Regions from separate parts of the Homo sapiens genome. Here all the other regions are linked to region 1. Evidence: promoter capture Hi-C in 16 types of primary human blood cells and fetal thymus (Javierre and others, 2016). All regions are on one chromosome and are shown on one strand. Each heading gives the region's core, a stretch centred on a gene start or on the middle of the fragment in contact. The rest is flanking DNA. Distances are from core to core; before and after follow the strand shown. Region 1 holds the start of NEK10 (NIMA related kinase 10). Region 2 overlaps TOP2B (DNA topoisomerase II beta). Region 3 overlaps ZCWPW2 (zinc finger CW-type and PWWP domain containing 2).

What was found. The method cuts DNA at HindIII sites, captures the fragments that hold promoters and counts their contacts. A CHiCAGO score of 5 or more calls a contact.
Region 2: a contact is called between a fragment that was not itself captured here and the fragment with the promoter of NEK10 in region 1, in 5 of 17 cell types (total B cells, fetal thymus, total CD8 T cells and 2 more). The highest score is 10.3, in total B cells.
Region 3: a fragment that was not itself captured here is called in contact with the fragment with the promoter of NEK10 in region 1 in 4 of 17 cell types (M2 macrophages, M0 macrophages, monocytes and 1 more); the score reaches 10.3 in M2 macrophages.

Annotation. Positions count from the first base shown.
Region 1 is chr3:27,367,720-27,371,155 of GRCh38, reverse strand. NEK10 (NIMA related kinase 10) reads left to right here and starts at 1,773. Exons shown (of 36, transcript NM_001394966.1): 1 at 1,773-1,931. RefSeq lists an enhancer at 2,015-2,515. The HindIII fragment of the contact is 2,054 bases long and covers 1,566-3,436 here.
Region 2 is chr3:25,647,493-25,650,928 of GRCh38, reverse strand. All of the region lies in intron 1 of TOP2B (DNA topoisomerase II beta), which reads left to right. Among named protein-coding and RNA genes, the nearest start is that of TOP2B, 16 kb to the left of the region's middle. The HindIII fragment of the contact is 2,449 bases long and covers 723-3,171 here.
Region 3 is chr3:28,373,803-28,377,238 of GRCh38, reverse strand. All of the region lies in intron 1 of ZCWPW2 (zinc finger CW-type and PWWP domain containing 2), which reads right to left. Among named protein-coding and RNA genes, the nearest start is that of AZI2, 27 kb to the right of the region's middle. The HindIII fragment of the contact is 2,741 bases long and covers 520-3,260 here.

The sequences.
Region 1 (3,436 bases), core at 524-3,023:
GCAGTGTCATTCTTGCCTCTTAATCGCTGCAGCTTTCAGGGAAGTTCAGGAATATTCTGGGATGGCCAAAACATTAGTTTAAGACTTTAATTTTACTGAGTAGTGGAAAGATGGGAAGCACAATTGGTATTCTGGTGAAGATGAGAAGTTCAGTGCAGTCATGTCTCACTGCTTAATGTTTATTTTTTGAGATAGAGTCTTGCTGTGTCTCTCAGGCTGGAGTGCAGTGGCATGATCTTGGCTCACTGCACCTCTGCTTCCTGGGTTCAAGTAATTCTTGTGCCTCAGCCTCCTGAGTAGTAGGGACTAGCATGTGCCACCATGCCCGGCTGATTTTTCTGTTTTTAGTAGAAACAGGGTTTGGCCATGATGGCCAGGCTGGTCTCGAACTCCTAACCTCAAGTGGTCCTCCTGCCTCGGCCTCCCAAAGTGCTAGGATTACAGGTGTGAGCCACCAAGCCAGGCCGACTGCTTAACATTTAGAATGTATGTACAGAATACTTTTTCTACTCAGCATCGGTCTTCCTGCCCCGTCACCTTGTTTTGTTTTATTGGTAACATTAATCCTGATTGTTTTAGATCTCTGAAGTTTAATTAGTTCTGCTATACTCACCAGAGTTTGGCTTTCATCTCGCCTTTCTGCATTTCCAAAATAGGACCGTCTTCATTTTAAAAAATGCTTTCAATTACCCAAGCTTAAGTATTGTTAATCCAATGGGCCTACTTACTATCCACACCAGAAAAACGTTAGGGTTCACTGTATTCATTTAAAATCCAGTTTGGGAAGATGTAACCACCAGACACACACACGAGCGTTTAGTGATACCAAGATGAGGTTGAACAGGGCCCAGTACTCGAAGAAATCGTCGAAGGAGCATCATCGTGGTTAAGACCAGACTCGAAGTAGGTTTTACCCTGACTCCATCACTAGCTCTGCCATACTGGACTACTTAGGAAACTTCTTGTGCCTCCATTTTATAACTAAGTGAAATAAGGAAAGAATTTGAAATCGTGCCCGGCACAAAATTAAGCACTTAATAGATTGGCATTTTTCATTTATTTAAAGTTACAGAATGTCAGGTATATTTTTAAAGCGTTATCTAATGCAGTTCAGAAATTTTAAAGAAGCTCCAGACTTTCACAAAAGGTGAAGTGACTTGCCCAAAGCCACAAAACGAACTGGCGATAGTTATACTATACAGGTTTCTTGAATCCCAGGTCACTCTTTTTGTGAAAAATACGGTGCTGTGGCACCTTATTCTCATTGCCTGTGGCTTGAGTAACTGAAGACGTTTTCATGCCATATGAAAGGTATTTAGCATGCTGCATTGATTCCTTATCAGATTAAATCTTTGCTTTTAAAGAGAATTGATTTTTAGCCCATAGCAATTCTTGAAAGTAAACACTCCAAGATGAAGCTGCCCTTTCCCATCAAAGGTTAGACACCCTAAATCCAGAAAAATCTTCAACGTGTAGGAGACCTGTTCACAGGTAGCTCTAGGTTCCGGTGAAGTGGCTGCAGCACAGCCTTCAGCATCACTTGCTGCCTCTTCTGCTTGCAAGCTTGGTGGTGGATCTAGCGCGTCTCTGGTTGCTACGGCGATTCCCCGGCAGGCGTCATCCGTCGCTATGGCGTTCTGCACTGCGCAGCATGGCTGCTCCCGATTGGCTGAGGCGCCCCAGGTGGCGGAGGAAGAATTGTCGGCATTGGCCTGGCCAGCGCTGGTTGGTGGCCTGGAGGAGGATTTGATTGGAAAACCAACGGTGCAGCTGGCCGCGGTGTCCCTGAGGTTGAGGGGACCGGGAATAGGCTGGGGGGAGGACGGGACGGGCTGAGACTGGACGGGACCCCCGGTCTGCAGCAGCAGGTGACAGCAGCAGGGACAATGATAAGGAGATTGGCCTGAAGGAGGGACCGTCCCTCCCGCGCGGTGAGTAGGCGGGAGCCGGTGCTCGGCTGTGCCGGCGAGCAGCTTGAGTCAGGGTCTCCGGGGAGACGTCCTCAGGTCCCTGTGGAGCGGCCCCGAAGCCTCGGGAGCCAGCTTCACTAGACAAGAGGCAGAGGTAGAGAATGCGGCTGTGGTGGGTAAGTGAGTCACTGCGTGAGGCAGTCTTTTCAAAGCAGGTGGGTTTGTGTTGGACGGATGGATGGTGGGAAAGCGCCATCAACGATGCTTCTTGGCGCTTCCATTTTGATAACGGAATTATTCTGGTTAAATGGAGCCTGAATGTGTCTCTTCCAATCTGCTCCGACGCCTCTGGAGGTTCATTCTTCATCTCTATGAGCGTCGCTTTTCTGCCTTCTCCTTACAGGATGCTGCTTTGACTTTGCCCCTCTGCTTTTCTGCCCTACTTCGGTGAGCCCTTCCACTTCCTCGCCTCAGGCACCATCTATCTGACGATGATTAGAAAGTCTCCAACTGGAACCTAGCCTGCTCTACTAACTGTCAGACCCCAAAATCCAGCTGCCAAGTTAACGCCACACATGTGCAACCCTGAACGCCATCTTCCCCATGTCTGCTGCTGCTCTTGGATTCCCTATTTTGGGCATCACTATCCATTCAGCTTTCAAAAACTACACTCTAGACGACATCCATGACACTTACTGCTGCTTCCTCTGCATCTCTATCAATTATCAAGACTATCCCTTCTTAATAGGTGTTGAATCAATTCCCACATTACCATCTCTATTTTTACTGTCTCAATTTCCACCATCGGTTGGTTAAATTCAACACCCATCTGGCTTCTCCGATTCTAGTCTGGCCCTATCTATCCAATCCACTTTTTTCCCCACCATTGTTGAACTGATATATATATATGTGTATATATATATATATGGAGTCCTTCTAAAAAAGACTCCTTTTTTAGAAGGAGTCTTGCTGTGCTGCCAGGCTGGAGTGCAGTGGAGCGATCTCAGCTCACTGCAGCCTCCGCCTTCCGGGTTCAACCAATTCTCATGCCTCAGCCTCCAGAGAGCTGGGATTACAGGCGCGAGCCACTACGCCTGGCTAATTTTTGTATTTTTAGTAGAGAAGGGGTTTCACCATGTTGGTCAGGCTGGTCTCGAACTCCTGATCTCAGGTGATCCACCCGCCTCAGCCTCCCAAAGTGCTGGAATTACAGGCGTGAGCCACCGTGCCCGGCTAAACTGATCTTTTTAAAACGCACATAAGGGCATTTCCCTTCCCTACTTAAAGTCCTGCAATGATTCCCCATTACCCTAATCCAATCTTTAGTTAGGCCTTCTATCAGCAGTTCCATCTTGATTGTTCCCAGAATATGTCACATTCTCTCCTGTGTGTAATTATCTCACCTGTTGCTCACACTGCCTGGAATGGACTTTCCTTTTTGCACCCCCACACTCCTGCTCTCACTCCCCAATCATTTTCTGTATGTTGCTTGATTACTGTTTCTTTCTCTGGACTGCCTCTGTGAC
Region 2 (3,436 bases), core at 698-3,197, 1.7 Mb after region 1:
TGCTAAAATTGAAGCAAGAACAAACATCAAGTTTATGAAGAAGCTTAGGTGAAAGAATGGTGAAATCATTGATTTACAATATGTTTACAGGGCCAATGCCTCAAATAAATGAGCAGTTTACAAATGGATAACTTCTTTTAAGAAGAGATGAGATGATGTTAAAGATGAAGCCTGCAGCAGCAGACCATTACATCAATTTGTCAGGAAAAGATTAATCATGTTCATGCCCTTATTTAAGAGGACCAATGATTAATAGCAGAAACAATAGCTAACACCATAGATGTCTCAGTCGGTTCAGCTTCCACAATTCTATATGAAAAATTAAAGATTCACAGACTTTCCATTCAATGAGTGCCAAAACCATTGTGCCTAGATCAGCTGCAGACAAGAGCAAAGCTTTTAATGGAAATTTTAAACAAATGGGATCAAGATACTGACACATTTCTTCAAATAATTGTAGCAGGAAATGAAACAGGGCTTTACCAGCATAATCCTGAAGACAAAGCACAATCAAAGCAATGGCTACTAAGAGGTGGAAGTGGTCCAATCAAAGCGAAAGCAGACAGGTCAAGAGCAAAGGTCTTGGCAACAGTTTTTTAGGATGCTCAAGGCATTTTGCTTGTTGACTTTATGAAGGGCCAAAGAACGATAACATCTGCTTATTATAAGAGTGTTTTGAGAAAGTTAGGTAAAGTTTTAGCAGAAAAATCCCCAGGAAAGCTTCACCAGAGTCTTTCTCCATCATGACAGTACTCCTGCTCATTCCTTTCATCAAACAAGAGCAATTTTATGAGAGTTTTGATGATAAATAATTAGGCATCCATCTTATAATCCTGATTTTGCTCCTTCTGACTTTTTTTGTTTACTAATCTTAAATCTTTAAAAGGCACCTAATTTTTTCAGTTGATAATGTAAAAAGACTGCATTGGCATGGTTAAATTCCCAAGACCCTTGGTTCTTCAGAGTTGAGCTAAATGGCTGATATCATCACTTATAAAAGTGTCTTGACCTTTATGGAGCTTTTGTTGAGAAATAAAATTTATATTTTTTATTTTTATCTTTTGATTCCATTTTTCCAAGAACTTTTTGGAGTCTCCTTGGACTTTACCAGGGAGTTATGTATTTTTGTGTTACTGTGTTGCTATTTTTTATCCTTTTGCTTTAAGGGACTCCCTTTATCATTTCTTGTTGGGCAAACCTAGTGGTGATGAACTGTCCCAGTGTTTGTTTATCTAAGAAAGTATTAATTTCTACTTCATTTTTGAAGGGCACTTTTGCTGGATACAATGTTCTTGGTTGGCAGTGTTTTTTTTTTTTTTCTTTCAGTACTTCAGATATATTCTTCCAATCCCTTCTATCTTGCAAGGTTTCTGCTGAGAAATTGGCTAGTAATCTAACAGAAGCTCCTTTGTAATTGATGATTCACTTTTCTGTTGCTGCTTTTAAGATTCTCTCTTTGTCTATGACTTTTGACAGTATAATTATGATGTGTCTTGGTGTAGTTTTCTTTAGATTTATCCTTGGAGTTCTTTGAGCTTCTTTAATTTGTATATGCATTTATGTCCTCAGATTTGGAAAGTTTTCAGCTATTATTTCTTCAAATAGGCTCTTTCTCCATTTCTCCCTTTCTTCTCCTTTGAGGCTTACATAATGTATATGTTGTTCTGATAGATAGTGGCCCATAAGTTCTTTAAGCTCTTTTTATGTTTATTCATTCCTTTGCCTTTTTGCTCCTTTCCCTTGGCAATTTTGAAAGTCCTGTCTTCAAATTTGCTGATTTAAAAAAATTCTGCCTGCTCAAGTCTACTGTTACATCCCTCTAGTGTATTTTCAATTCATTTACTGTATGCTTCAGTTCCAGAAATAATGTTTGCTACTTCATCATAGTTTTTATCTTTGTTGATTTTTTCCTTTTGTTTATGCATTGTTACACCGAGTTTTTGTTTGTTCATCTGTACTCATTTATTTCATTAAGCATCCTTATGGCAGTTAATTTGAATTCTTTGTATGACAATATATTTCCATTTCTTTAGGCTCAATTTGTGGTGATTTATTTATTATTTTTTTGAGACAGGCTCTTGCTCTGTCACCCAGGCTGGAGTACAGTTGTGTGCAGATGGCTCACTGCAGCCTCGACCTTCTGGGCTCAGGCAATCCTCCCGTCTCAGCCTCCCAAGTAGCTGGGACTACAAGTGTGCACTACCACACCTGGCTAATTTTTTTTTGTTTTGTTTTGCTAGAGATAAGATTTGGCCATGTTGCACAGACTGGTTTTGAGCTCTGGGCTCAAGGGATCTGCCTGCCTCAGCCTCCCAAAGTGCTGGGATTACAGGTGTGAGCCACTGCGCCTGGCTGCAATTTAGTTTTTTACATTGAATCGGCTGTATTTCCCTGTTTCTTTGTATTGTTATTTTCTGTTAGGGCTTTGGCATTTGAAGGCTTAGCTAACTCTCTGGTCTTTGCGGTCTGGTTTCATACTGGGAAGACTTTCTTCATCCAGTTAGTCTAGCTAGAGAATCCTGAGACCTCACAAATCTTTTATGGGGATGCATCCTCTTTGGGTTTGTAATTTCTTAATTGAAGAGGTTTGCCTCTGTCCATCTGTCTGCTCCCTCTGGTGTGTCTTTGTCTGCTTTACTTGTGGCGTCTCGTGCTGTAGTAAACTACAGTACTGGAGCTCCACCTTGTGTCTGTTTCTGATACTGCAGGGTCTGATGCTAAACCAAAGCACTTTGCTTTTGTTTTCAATGGCCCTCAACCTGGCACCCTGTTCAATGTCAGTACTTAGATTCAGTCAAGAAGTTTCTAGGGTAGCACTGCCCTCAGCTGTTCCATTGGAGGTATATTCCTTTTCTGCTCCTCCCCAGGGAGAAGGTGGAAGTTGTTGTTGTCTTGTTTGTTTTTCTCAATCTTGCCTTGCTGGGGCAGATAGGAGGGAGGACATGAGCTTTGATGCTATTTTATGCTCACCTGGGGTGCTGGAACTTATCACAAAGGCAGTTGGATTGTTTGTTATTGTTGAATCCTTGTCTTCATGGGGAAAGAAAGGCCTGGGGTTTCTTGTTTTGCCATCTGGCTGACCACACTCAAATGTTACCTGTTTTTTTTAGACATTATCTTAGCAAGAATGGTAAGTCTTTGAACTTGATAGGAATTTGGTGGGTTCAAGCTTTCAAACTTTTTTTTGTAATATATCCATTTGGGAAGAGGTGCAGGGAGGAAGAGGTGGTGATTATAAGTAAGGAAGTGTGGAAAAAGTTGTAAATTCTTGAAGAAAGCATGAGGTAAGGTTTTACTCCTGTTTTTTTTTTTTTATCCCTGTGTGCCCTTTAGTTCAGTTTAGTTCATACAAATTAGATAGACATGAGCCTCTGGTTGAGTCTAATCTTGAAAATATTTTCTTTGTGATGGGGTTGGTTTTAGAAGAGTAGCCTGG
Region 3 (3,436 bases), core at 641-3,140, 1.0 Mb before region 1:
ATTGCATGATGCAAAAATGAAAGCATGCATCTTTAATGCATGACATATGAATCTGCAGAGTAAAACAACAGGTTGAGGATAGGAAAATTTGGAATTCTTTCTCTGGAAAGAAACAAAACAAACTAAAGGTCTCTAAAGAAATCACTAACAAAATACAAAAAAAAAAATCATCATGCAGTGAGTTCAATATTGGAAAAATATTTGTCTTCACTTTGAATTTCATTAGAACTGTCTAAATACATAACTAAGGAATAAAGAATATAATTTCAACCTCAAAACTAAAATCATGCCTATGCTTAAACAGTATGTTCACAATATATTGTTAAATAAAGAAAGCAAATTGTCCAGTTCTGTTTAAGATTACAGACTAATTAATTTATCTTTTCCTTCCATTAAAATTACACTTAAGACATAAAAGAGAAAAAAAGGTTAGGGAGTTATCAGTGAACAAAAGATTTCAACATACATTTTGCGACAAAAGTTACATCACCAAAATGGTGGAGTACAAGGAATCAAGCTTCACTTCTCCCTAAGAGAAAACTAAAAACAAATACCTTCTGCCAAGATTACGATGAGCAATATCCCAGAACTGAAATCTGAGGATGAAGCAATCCCTGTGTCCAAAGAGAAGTGAAAACACTGAGCAGACAGTATAGAGAATCAGACTTCTATGTTCATGACACTCCTCCCACAATCTGCCAGACATAGTGTGCTAGGAAAATTGAGTACAGAGACAAACCGCGAACTCTAGTACTGTAAGTTGGTGGTGCAATAGACTCATACCTCTAGAATGAAACTCCAAACATAAATCTATCCAAAAAATAGCTAGAGCAATCTGTAAAGATATGGGTAATATAAAAATATGTCAATACAATAATTAAAAGTCAAAATGTGAGAGGAATGGAGTTAAAGTGTAGAGATTGTTTTTTCTATTTCTTCATTATTTGTTTCTATTCTAAGATAAGCTGACATCTCCTTAAAATAACATCTATAAGATGTTTTTGTAAACTCATGATACCCACAACCCCAAAACCTATAATAGATTCACTAAAAATATCAAGTACCAGCAATCCCACTGCTGGGTATATACCCAAAAGAAAGGAAATCAGTATATCAAAAAGACATCGGTACCCCTATGTTTGCTGTAGCACTGATTACAATAGTTAAGATTTGGAAGCAACCTAACTGTCCACCAATAGATGAATGGATAAAGAAAATGTGGTACATATTCACAATGGAGTACTATTCAGCCATAAAAAAAAGAATGAGATCCATCATTTGCAACAACATGGATGGAACTGGACATTATGTTATTAAGAGAAATAAGTCAGGAACAGAAACACAAACATTTCATGTTTTTACTTATTTGTGTGATCTAAAAATCAAAACAATTGAATTCATGGACATAGAGAGTAGAAGAATGGTTGCCAGAAGTTAGGAACAGTAGACGGGGGATGGTAGGGGAAGTGTGGACAGTTAATGAGCACAAAAAAAAAAAATAGAAAGAATGAATAAGACCTACTATTTGACAGCACAATAGGATGACTATAGTCAATAATAAACTTAATTGTATTTTTTAAATAAAGAATGTAATTGTATTATAGGTAACTCAAAGGATAAATGCTTGAGATGGATACCCCATTCTCCATGGTATGCTTATTTCAGATTACATGCCTGTATCAGAACATCTCAGTTAACCCATAAATATATATACCTATGTACCCACAAAAATGTTTTAAAAATCAAGCAATGGATTAAAACATACTACCAGAGAGAATCACTTAACCCCAAAGAAAGACAGTAAGAAAGAATGAAAGGAAGAGAGGAGTTACAAAGCAACCAGAAAACAAGCAACAAAATGGCAGTAGTTAAGTCCTTACTTATCAATAATAACACTGACTAAATGAACTCAATTCTCCAATTAAAAGGCAGAGAGTGGCTGAATTAATAAAGAAACATGATCCAAATATATACAGCCTACAAGAAACTCACTTCAACTATCAAGACACATAGACAAAGTGAAGGGGTGGAAAAAGGTATTACATACAACTTGAAACAAACAAACAAACAAAAAACTAAAAAAAAAAACCAAGTAGTTATACTTACATCAGGAAAAATACAGTAAAAATCAAAGACTAAAAAGAGATGAAGAGGATCATTATATAATGATAAAGGCGTGAATTCAGCAAGAGGATTCAGCAAAACAATTATAAATGTCTATGCACCTACCACTGGTGCTCTCAAGTATACAAAGCAAATATTAAAGATCTAAAGAGAGAGAGAGAGAGACCGTAATATAATAATAGTAAGGAACTTTAACACCTCACTCTTGGTAACACACAGATCATCCAGAAAGAAAAATCAACAAAAATTAACGAAAACCTGTTAAGCAAATTCAGTAAAGTTGTGGATACAAAATCAACATACAAAAATCAGTAGCATTTATATATGCCAACGGTGAACAATCTGAAAAAGAACTCAAGAAAGCAATCCCATTTACAATATCTACAAAAAATATAAAATAACTAAGAATCAATTTAACCAAATAAGTGAAAGATCTATACAAGAAAAACCAGTTGAGGAAGAGAACACTGATGAAAAGAACATACAAAAAATGAAAAGACATCCCATACTCATAGTTTGCAAAAATTAATACCATTAAAATGATAACACTACCCAAAGCAACCTACAAATTCAATATAATCCCTATCAATCTACCAATGAGATTTTTCATAGAAATAGAAAAAGTAAACCTAACATTTATATGGAACCAAAATAGAGCCTGAAGCAATCCTGAGCAAAAACAACTAAATTGGCAGCGTCACATTACCTGAGTTCAAAATATACTATACAAAGCCAAAGTAACCAAAGCCACATAAAACTAGACCCATAGACTAATTAAACAGAATAGAGAACACAGAAATAATACCACCTATTTACACTCAGCTCATTTGTGACAAAGGTACTGAGAACATACACTGGGAAGAGGACAGCCTCTTCAATAAATCGTGCTGGGAAAACTAGATAACCATATGCAAAAGAATAAAATTAGTGTCCTATCACTCACCATGTACAAGAATCAAATCAAAATGGACTAAAGACTTAAATCTAGGATGTGAAACCATGAAACTACTATAAGAAAACATTAGGGAAATGCTTGAGGACATTGGTCTGGGCAAACATTTTATCGCATAAGACAGCAAAAGCACAGGCAACAAAAGCAAAAATAAACAAATAAGATCACATGAAGCCAAAAAGCTTCTGCATGGCAATCAACAAAGTGAAGAGACAACCTACAGAATGAGAGAAAATATTTTCAAACTATCCATCTGAGATGGGATTAATAACCAGAATCTATAGGGATCTCAAACAACAGCAAAAAACAAACAAACAAAAACAAACAAATCTAATTTAAAAATGAGCAAAAGATCTGAGT